3 separate regions of the Homo sapiens genome follow, and regions 1 and 2 are each linked to region 3. The links are contacts of gene promoters, found by promoter capture Hi-C in blood cells and fetal thymus (Javierre and others, 2016). All regions are on one chromosome and are shown on one strand. The core of a region is centred on a gene start or on the middle of the fragment in contact, and the rest is flanking DNA. Distances in the headings are between cores, read along the strand shown. Region 1 overlaps WDR49 (WD repeat domain 49). Region 2 overlaps WDR49 (WD repeat domain 49). Region 3 holds the start of WDR49 (WD repeat domain 49).

Region 1 (3,462 bases), core at 231-2,730, 140 kb after region 3:
TAAATCATTTTATTTTTAAGAAATATTCTTCCGAAGAATGTGCCCCTTTACCTAGTCAGATTGGTAAATTCAAGGAAAGAATCATGCTAGCTCTCATCCATATGAAAAAATATGAAAGAAAAATAAAAATGTGAAAGAATTTAGACTACAGGAGAAAAAGTACACTTGGTGTATATATGCAGGTGGGGGTATGTTTAGATGGGGGTTGGTGCACAGGAAGAAAGATGAAGGAAAATAGAAAAAGTCTAAAGAAAATAGAAGAAACAAGAAACATGAAGAAAAAATTAAGTGTCTTAAAGCTATTTTCTCATTTTAACACCTAAGAGTCTCTTTCCAGGTTAAAAAATTGGGGTGTATATTATCTTCTGGCTTATACAAACATACCTGGCTTTTCACAGGGCTGAAAGTATTTTATAATACTATTTGTGAGAAGTAGGTAGATGGTAAAGAGTTATCTTCAAGTTAAGTCCTGGGGAGATGAATATAGAATTTAAGAGATTAATAGAAAGGCCTAATTCTAAGTTAACAATTGATATGGAGAAATAGATTTATCCTTTTCCTAGAGTCTGCAAAACTCATACTAGCTTTAAAAAACTTCTAAAAAAATAAATAAGTGAAGGGATAAAATAGTAAAAAAAACTACAGTGGACATATATTTTTCCTAGTTTATAGGAATATTTGTTTTTTGGACTCATGTAAAATTATCTAACCTAGGAAAATTATAGATAAAATGAATAATTCAGAAAATACAGTTTCAGAATATTTCCTTATTATAAAATTAATACAGGGATTACAGGCATATGCCACCATGCCCAGCTCATTTTTGTATTTTTAGTAGAGACGGGGTTTCATCATGTTGGCCAGGCTGGTCTTGAACTCCTGACCTCGTGATCTGCCCGCCTCGGCCTCCCAAAGTGCTGGGATTATAGGCATGAGCCGCTGTGCCTGGCCAAAAATACTACATTTTTATTACGGGAAAATTTGGAAGTACAAATAAGCAAAAGGTGAAAATATCTGTGGTAAAGCCATTGTTAACATTAGGCATTTCACTTTTAAGACCTTGCTTTAGGCATACTTACAACAATGAAAAAATGTACATTTTATAAAAATAACTGTGACTTAGTAGACACAGTTTATAACCTGTTTTATCGCTCAAAAATATGCAGTAGGCACATTTTCATATTAGTTAATATGAGTATCCATGGACAACAACATTTATAATGACTTGTAGCTTTTTAACCATTTTCTTTATTTCAAATATGTAGACTGTTTACAAATTTTAACTGGGAAAACAGTTCTTTAAATACCTTCATGTGCACATATTAGAATATCTTATTGAATTCATAATTAGAATACATTCTTTGAGAGGAATTGCTGAGTCAAAAGGCATAAAGGCCTTTGGGTCATCTTGCTAAAGGTCATCTTGCTGTCTGGACATATCAGCTCTCCCTCCAGCAGCAATACAAATGGTTGCTTTCCTGCCTTCGAACCAAAAATGGTTGTTATTGCTGTCTTAAAACTGTCGCTATGATATCTTATTGCTTTAAACTAAAGTTTTTGATTATTTGTGAAAGTAAACATTTTTCAGGTTTATTAACCTTTGATAATTCAATAATAAATTTTAAAGGGGTATTCAAAGTCTACTAGACTAACTCCTATGGCATCTTTAAGAGAAACACATCCCAGCCTTTTTGAATAGTTCCTATATGACACACTCACATCTCACAGATACCCTTCTCTATTATTGAACTATTCTTAATGTCTCTAATGTTAAGTAAAATCCATCTGTAGAACTCTCACTTACTGATCTTCATTCTTATTCTAGAGCAACAAAGAGCATAAACTACTCCATTTTTTATTATCTGACACATTTTCCTTTGGTTACCATTTAAAAAATTGCTTATCTGGAAGGGATTCATTATTAGAAACAAGTATAAAGACTCAGATGAGAAATGAAACAAAAATTCTACTAGTTTCCCAGTAAGTTTATACAAGGCAGAGGGCACACCTCAAATTAATGTTTCTTAAACATGGAAAATAATTATGATGTTTTAAATTCCATGTTATTGTTAGGAGGGAACTGATATTTAATATTATTTAAATGCTATTGATTACCTAATTATTCTGTCAGTAGATTTCATGTGAGAAATTAAATTAGAAAATAGATAAATAGCTATAAGAAAAAATACACAAAATATTAAAATCCCATTTTAAATTAGGCTTTATGTGATGTAAATACTTGACGAATTGGCAGTCTACTTTCACCAACAATCTGGCAATAACTATCCTATGTCCATGTATGACAAATGAAAGCATATGATACTCTATTCAATTTTTGAAATTTGAACTTTAAAAATACTAGAACAGCAAATTGTTATTTGGGGGAGTGCCACATCTTTTTATTTTTTGTCTGATCATTCTGATAGTTCTGAAGAATATTGGAGCTTGCTGTAGGGGGGTGTTAGAACTCCCTGCTTTGAGTGAAAAATATTGTCTTGCTTTTGCTTAAAGTGATAGTAGCCAATACCAACTGAGCCCTGATTATATTTCAGGGCCTGTTCTAAGGTCTTTATGTGTTTACCTCATTTAATTCTCACTGTAATCCTAGAAGATAGCTACTATTGTCATCCCCATTTCACAACTTGAAAAACAGAGGCGGAGAAGTTAACAGATTTGCACAAGGTCAACCAACCAAGAGGTGAACTAGGGATACAAATGCAGGCATTCAGCCTCCAGAGTTAGTACTTTATCAGTGTTCTGTGTTGCCTGTCCAACAAGCATCATGTGAAAATATTGACAAATTATTGGTTTCTGAGTCAAGCCATCAAATATTTTATCAAGTACCTGCTATGTATAAGCCACTACTCTAAGCATTTTTCACTTCCTTTTTGATGCCTAGGAGGGTACTTGAGTAATTGTCACAGTCATTATACCTCCCTTCCACAGCCAGAGCCAAGAGAAGTGAGATTAGTTAGAGCCTTTCCTCCTCATAGGATTGATGCCAAAGCTGGTGGATCCCATAGTAGATCGCCTTCCTGCATCACCTACTAAGGCATTTTTGCAAAATGTTTTAAAACTCTATTTAAGCCTGGTATTACATTATTCTGCTTCTTTGTCTTCATCCATCACTTCTCCTCTTGAGAATATTTGCCTTTTTCCAGTTCCCTGTGCATTTTCAGAGTAACCACTCCTGCAAATGTCAGATGTCTGTCTGTGAAAAGGAAGCAATAGATTGTTGACTTAATTTGTTGTGATTTCCAAGAGATTCTCTCCTACCGTCTGACTACTTTTCTCCCTCTGTGGATAAAACTCTTTAGTGGAAATGGGCAAAATGTTTTGCTTTATATAAAAGCTACTTGATTTAGATTCCACAGGATGAGATAGTCAGAAAGCATATGGTCTGAAAACAGGGAAGAGTTTAGAGTGTTTTGGAAAAAAAAATCAAGATATATTGTTAACTAC
Region 2 (3,629 bases), core at 769-3,268, 160 kb after region 3:
AATATTTCAAAATTCAGCCTCCCCTGTTCAAATAGTATTCAAATCAAATTCCCTGGTAGCTTATTCTTGCTCTTATTTCTAAAACCAGTCATTTTACTGTATTACCTATTTTTATTATTTTCATTTAAAATTGTTCCTCTCCTTTTCAGAAGGATACTGATGAATTTAAAAATTGTTATTATAAAATAACACTTAAAAAAAAAAAAAACTTCAATTACCAATATATTTCTCCTGCACACTATCATTGCAGAGGCTACCTTACGTCTTTGCACTGCATTTTTTCCACTTTGCTGCAATCTCCGTAATTACCTCGTGCATAGGTTTTTGGCAGTTGTACAATGAGAGGCATTTTGCTAGTCTCACTTTCAATGTCCTAAACTCTCACTTTGGAACTTGGGACAGTTTTCAAACACTTTAAAATCCCCAGGTGATGTTTTAGCCATACCTGCTGGGTTTTTTATGTCCTTTTGTATTCTGTTTCTTTCCCTTTCAACTTGAAACATCTTTCTTCACACTTTCCCTTTAGCTTTCAAGTTGCTCCCAGTTGGTTCTTAAACAGCTTGAAACCCCTCTTTGATATGCCTTATTCAAAATCCTGGAAGCTACTTAGAACTGCCTCTGAGTCAGGTTTTGCCAATAAATTCCCCAGAACCCATTCACATTGTATCTGTAAAATCTTTAAAACTTGAAACAGTGTGGAGAAAATGCTCTATTAATGATACCTCAGGTGACTTGTTTTGTTGTAGCTGTTGCTCTGTGAAAGACAAAATGTACGAAACAATTAAAGAGATGGTTTTATTCAGCCTACTGCAATACGGAGAAAGTTCATTAAACAGGAACATCTCAAAGAAAAGAAAAGAGGTCTGAGCTTTTGTAGAGGTAGGTAGATGAGGAAGTCATCTGTGATTCTTATAGGACTCAAGAGGAAGGAAAGAGAGGGTCCTGGAATATATGAGAGGAGAGGAGTCCTTTGTGGTTAGCTGTTTCTAGAACATGAAAATGTAGAGAGATTTCTTAAATGTCTTCACTTTCCAGGAGCACTGGACTGAGGTAAAGTTCAGCATCGCCAGTCTCATCCCCCTTGTGTTTAAGAAAAATGAATATCACTCATTGCTGAACAACCTAAAAGTGATTCTAAAGCTCCCGGGTGGGGCAAAGCAGAGTCTCAGAAATAGTCTCTCAGGGGTTCTTGTTGATGTTGCTCCTACAAAACCACTTGAATTTATATTGCCAGGTGGTGGCAAAGGTCAGCTGTTTTGAAGTCCCAACGATCCTGGGAGAAAGGGACAGCTGCAAGGCAACCAAAAGTCTGTATAGGGATCTGGGATGTCAGGTTTTAATTCTTGGTAATGTCCTTAGGTGGGAGGGAGAAAAACTGAAAATGTTAATTTGGAAAGTTGTAGTTAAATGTTGAAAAAAAACACATAAGATTGAAAAGTTTGGAGAGTTGACAATTTGTGCAAGGTAGCAGACCAGTCCAATTTGCAAGTAGATCCCGAAAGTGGTGTTTCCAAGGAGAAGAGGAAGTCAAATCTCTAGCAGATAAAACAAAGTTTGCATATCCGTCAGTGGCTTGCAATTGAAAAGAGGGGCAAAAATAGTTCAAAAACAGTGAACTCAACTAGAATCTAACAACCCAGAAGGGTGTGCTGGAGACAATACATAGTGTTTTATTGAAACACACAATGTTTCACATTAGCCCTTAAGCTACAGGTCAAAAATATACACATAAGCTTTTATTAAAATCTTTGTTTTAGAGTATAATTTTAAATCTAGCACCGGTAAAGAAAAATAATCTTTGATATCATATAAAAGTTCTTACTTGAACAAATAATTAAAATGTAGGAAGAAAGCATTTGTAGATACATGCATTGACTATATGATAAATGAGAGATTGCTACACATGGCTCACCTCAGGACCTTTTGGATACTAAACATCCAGAATGAACAGAAAACTCAGGGGCATTTTAAAAAGTAGAAATCCTTCCTATTGCTCTACATTTTTATTTACATAACACTAAATTATCTCAAAATTCACAAATACAACACACACAGACCAAAATTTTGGGTCTATAAAACAGAAGTCATTAATATGTGAACAACATATTTAAAAGGTTCAACAGGTCCCAAGCAACCATTATTTGAGAGTCATATGAAAACTATTAAAGTATTTTGATTAATCATCACCACTCTTTCTCACCAACCCGTTGCTTTGTTGCCTGTTTGTTACTGGATGGTGGCTGAAATAAAAGGACATTTGACAATACTCACCTAGAGCTTAGATTTAGAAATCAGAAGCTTGACCTCAAGATGTGGGCAGTGGATAGCAGCATGGGCATCACCAGGGAGCTCCTTAGAAATGCAGCATCTCAGGACCCACCCCAGATCTGTTGCATGGGAATTTGTATTTTAATGAGAACTCCAGGTGATTCTTATGCACATATAAGTTTGATAAATAAGAATTTGTCTAGAAGACGCAAAATAGGACACAGAATAGGAGGAAGAATGTGAATTAGAAAGGAGTTTTCAGAATGCTGTACACTCATAGACAGGTAGTCATTGCATAGTACATTACATAGCTGCCAAGTCCTTTGTTGCCAGGGTATCTTTGTGAGTTTTGCCACTGTTGTTCAGCTGATATAGTTAGTTGCCAATTAGCAGGCAAGGGAAAGACCAGAAGACAATATATAAACCAATTCTTCTATGTTAAGATCCTTGAATCATTTTATTATAGAAAAAATGTTTTGGATACTTTCCTGACCACCACATCTTTCCTTTTCATCACTGTGAAAACAGCTTTTGGCTATCATTATAATAAACCTTGTCAGGCAGCCAACTATAAAGTGAAGTGATGAGTGTATAAATGTCATATTTTCCCAGGTAGGGAATAGTGAATGTAAGTGGTTACTGATAACACTAGATGTTAATTTTTAAGAACTTGGTTGTGGTTAAATGGATGTATATGTATATATGTGACATGGAGAATCACCCTTTTATGAATATTATAGGGTCCCCAGGTCTCTGGAATGCAGGGATTCCAAAGGGTGAGGAGTGAGCCAACCCCTTTGCATGCCTGAAAGTTCCTTCATTCATGTGCTCATATATTCAACAAATATACATTTTGAGTCCCTTTTCCATGAGCCAGATACAATGCTGGGTGCTAGGGATATATGGTATACAAAGGCAAACAAAGTCTACTGCTGCTGAATTTATTGTCTAGGAAGAGAGATAGGTAATAATAAGTAGATAAATAGTTAAAGATGATAAGTTTGGAGAATGATATTGATAAGAGCTAAGAAGAAAATACAACAAGATAATATAATAAGGTGACATTAGGAAGAACATCAGTGAAGGTCTCTCTGACATTTAAGCTAAATCCTAAGGTAGAAAGTTCTACAAAGATGTTGGGGCAGAATGTCCCAAGCACAGGAAACAAGTATAAAACCACTGGGAACAAAATTGACATGTTCCAGGGACAGAAAAGAGGTCACCATTGCTAGAATGGAGTGAGGAGACTGGTATCAGATGAGATTAGAGGGGGCTCAGGGGTCATGTCATGTGGGACCATGTTGCCTGGGCAAAAAATTTGGTTTAAGTATAAAGGGAAGCCTTCAGAGGATTTAAAGAGG
Region 3 (3,519 bases), core at 512-3,011:
TGGTCTTGAACTCCTGACCTCAAGTGATCTGCCTGTCTTGGCTTCCCAAAATATGGAATTACAGGCATGAGCCACCGTGCCCTGCCTATTAGGCTCTTAATAAATGTTTTTTTTGAAAGAATAATGAGAGATGGATGAAAAAATGAAAGCATGAATGAAACTTCATTTTTTTCTATAATGGGTACAGGAACTCCTACAGGATGCTCTTCTCTCTGTTCTGTACCATGCCTCTAGTGAACACCAGCTCAGAGAATGTTAGAGCCGGAAGAGACCCTAGAGAAGATGTAATGCCAACTTTTTAGTTTACAGAAGTGAAAATAAAGTGCAACGGGCACATCCATCTAAAGTGCAGTGATACAGTTGGGCAGTGTCCCCACCCAAATCTCACCTTGAATTGTAATAATCCTCACATGACAAGGGCGTGGCCAGGTGGAGATAATTGACTCAAGGGGGCGGTTTCCCCATACTGTTCTCCTGGTAGTGAATAAGTCTCATGAGATCTGATGGTTTTATAAATGGGAGTTACCCTGCACATGCTGTCTTGCCTACTGCCATGTAAGTCATGACTTTGCCCTCATTAGCTTTCTGTCATGATTTTGAGGCCTCCCCAGCCATGTGAAATTATGAGTCAATTAAACCTCTTTCCTTTATAAATTACCCAGTCTCAGGTATGTCTTCATTAGCAGTGTGAAAACAGACTAATACATGCAGTATCTGAAGTTTGGGAGCCATTCTGTTCTCTTCCGTATGTTACTATTTGTGTGACCTTTGGCATTTTCTTTGCTTTTTTTTTTTTTCTTTTTTGAGACAGGGTCTCATTCTGTTGCCCAGGCTGGAGTGCAGTGGCACAATCTTGGCTCACTGCAACCTCTGCCCCCCAGGTTCAAGGGATCCTTCTAACTCAGCCTCCCGAGTAGCTGGGATCACAGGTGTGCGCCACCATGCTCGGCTGATTATTTTTGTATTTTTACTAGATACAATGTCTCGTCATGTTGCCCAGGCTGCTCTCGAACTCCTGAGCTGAAGCCATCCACCTGCCTCAGCCTCCCAAAGTGCAGGGATTACAGGCGTGAGCCACCTTGCCCGGCTTTTTGCTTCTTTATCAGTAAAATGGGGATAATGATCACATCTGCCTTGTAGGATTGTTGTGAAGCTTAAACAAGACAATGAACATAAAGTTTTAGTGCCTGGCACATGGTTAATACTCAAAAAATGTTAATTTTTCTTCTTTTTCTCCTCCTTTTCATTATTATTAGCTGAACCAGTAATGACACTGCAAGCAATTTTATCATTAGATTTATCATATTATGTTATGCTGTGTTTTTTTATCACATTTTCAACAAGTTGGAAGCTTTTTTGAACCATCTCTATTTTATATACATAGAAACTAAGACAAAAAGAATATAAGAAACAGATTCCTTTTATATAAAAATAAAACATTTTCTGTGTATAAAACATAAAATTCCAGAATTTCATGCTTTTCTCTTTGACTAATCATATAGTTTCATAATATATATCCTATATAATGGTAAAAGTTGTCTTTAAATAATACAAGATGTCGTTTAATAAAAAATGAGTGGAATGAACTGTCCTTTTATTTCAAAAAAAACCATTTCAACATTTACATTATATATTTAAACTTTCAGTTGGAGAGGGGGAAGTGAAAGGGAAAGTTTTAGTTGGCTTTGTGTTGGTTGCCAGGAAACATACAAAAGGATCAGAACAGATGAAACAAACAACTCCACATTGCTGGGAAGGTGGCATTCAGAGTCAAGTACTTCATTGGTAGGGAAACTCTGCAGCTTTGTCATCTAACTCTTCCAGACAAGAAAGTGGAATTGAAAACTACAACATGTTAATGGAAGCAAGGTTAGTTAAAGAGATTTTTGGGAAGGTGCTTTTCTAATGCATTTAAAATGAGGATTGGAAGTTGTTTTCTGTGTCAGTTACTATAAATGTGGGGAAAGCTTTACACATTTTTAATCAAGCCAGGTTAAACAGAGTATAAGGAAGGGGTAAAAATACCATTTTAAAAGCATTCAACTGTAAATTTTGAAAATAAACTCTAGAATCAAATAAGTGAGAGGGTTGAGGGCTTTCATTTCCTACCTCAGCTTGAACATTTTGCCTCCTGATCGTATGCCTTGAAAGGTTTGTACTTTCATTTTGGAATTCTGTTGCTAAGTTGAGTTTCTTTTCAAAGGCACCTGTTGAAGGAAAAAGAAGATCCATCCTTATAGAAATAGTTGAAGGCAACTGAGAAAAGGTGAAGCCATTATGAGTTGCCAGAAAGCTGTACTTGAGTTAAACATAGGGTCACAGCTTGGGCCAAAGAGTCCTGAGAGAACAGAAGGTGTAACTGCATTTGAAGACTATGGCACAGGCCTGCTTGAAAACCAACTCAGCGTGGGTGACTTTGTAAAAATACAGAAGGCCTTTGAGGTAAGTGTGAAGCTTATTGACCAGATAGTTTGAGTTGTTCATGAAGGAGCCTAGAATGAAACACAGAGATATTTTTCTTTAAGCATTAAAAAAATACACTTAATTGTTATAGCAGAGAATTAAAAATAATTGGTTAGGCCTGGATTTAACACAATGTGCTTGGTAGCTTTGCCCCTCAGTTCTTTGGGCCAAATAATATTCTTTAGTTTGAAATTGCTTCACTGAATTTCATTACTATCAAGAAAGAACTATTTATTGTTGGAAAAAATTTTTTTCTTAGAGATCAACATATTTTGGGGAAACAAAAAATTATGGCTGTGAGTGAAGAAAGCCAGATCTCTAAGGTGACCTCCAGGAATAATTGTTCTTGCATTTAATACGGACATAGAACTCAGCAAATGCAAATATGCATACCCAGTTTGCAAAAAATTTCCTCCTGTCTCACTCACCCTAAGTGGCACAGCTCCTTTTCTAAGCTGATTCTGGCACTTTGTTGTCCCAAGATCCCTTATGAGGGACGAGTCTCCCACTCATTTTGTAAATCCTGGAACAATGCCAATAAAAACAAAATTAGAATTTTTCATTTTAACTCTGCATAAAAAATAAACCATAGGAATTTAACTGTAAATGAATAATTTTCTTCTCTCTTAGTCAATGAATTTTGAATTCTGCAGCTATGCATAATGAACAGCATACATCAAAGTGGTTTTTAGTTTCAAATATGGGTAGAAAGAAGTGCTCTTCCATGACGTAGAATTTAGGTAGTCATGAGCCTCCAACATTTCTACTATATTATGTTTACTAAAGTATGATCTAGGGCCTTCTTAAGATTGTCCGTGGGTGCTTGGAGTATCCATACTAATTTGAAATAGAAAATATTTTGGAATACCACCTGGAAATTAATAAAATATAATAAAAGCTCACAATATATTAGCCTGTAATAGGCACACATTTTTATCTTTGGATATCCACAAAAGAATATAACAAGTTGGGTTCCACCTGTATTGATAAATTAATGTCCCAATAGTATCAATCATTTCTTTATAATAGAACTTATCATATTTAGTAGCAAGACAT

Evidence for each region. Contacts are between HindIII fragments. The CHiCAGO score rates a contact against its expected background, and 5 or more counts as called.
Region 1: a fragment that was not itself captured here is called in contact with the fragment with the promoter of WDR49 in region 3 in 2 of 17 cell types (monocytes and M2 macrophages); the score reaches 6.9 in monocytes.
Region 2: a fragment that was not itself captured here is called in contact with the fragment with the promoter of WDR49 in region 3 in 1 of 17 cell types (monocytes); the score reaches 5.6 in monocytes.

What each region holds. Positions count from the first base shown.
Region 1 is chr3:167,507,592-167,511,053 of GRCh38, reverse strand. All of the region lies in intron 16 of WDR49 (WD repeat domain 49), which reads left to right. Among named protein-coding and RNA genes, the nearest start is that of SERPINI2, 35 kb to the right of the region's middle. The HindIII fragment of the contact is 7,574 bases long and covers 1-3,462 here.
Region 2 is chr3:167,488,725-167,492,353 of GRCh38, reverse strand. All of the region lies in intron 18 of WDR49 (WD repeat domain 49), which reads left to right. Among named protein-coding and RNA genes, the nearest start is that of SERPINI2, 16 kb to the right of the region's middle. The HindIII fragment of the contact is 565 bases long and covers 1,736-2,300 here.
Region 3 is chr3:167,652,184-167,655,702 of GRCh38, reverse strand. WDR49 (WD repeat domain 49) reads left to right here and starts at 1,761. Exons shown (of 19, transcript NM_001366157.1): 1 at 1,761-1,869; 2 at 2,204-2,442. The coding sequence starts at 2,278. RefSeq lists enhancers at 1,501-2,023, 2,024-2,547. The HindIII fragment of the contact is 616 bases long and covers 1,354-1,969 here.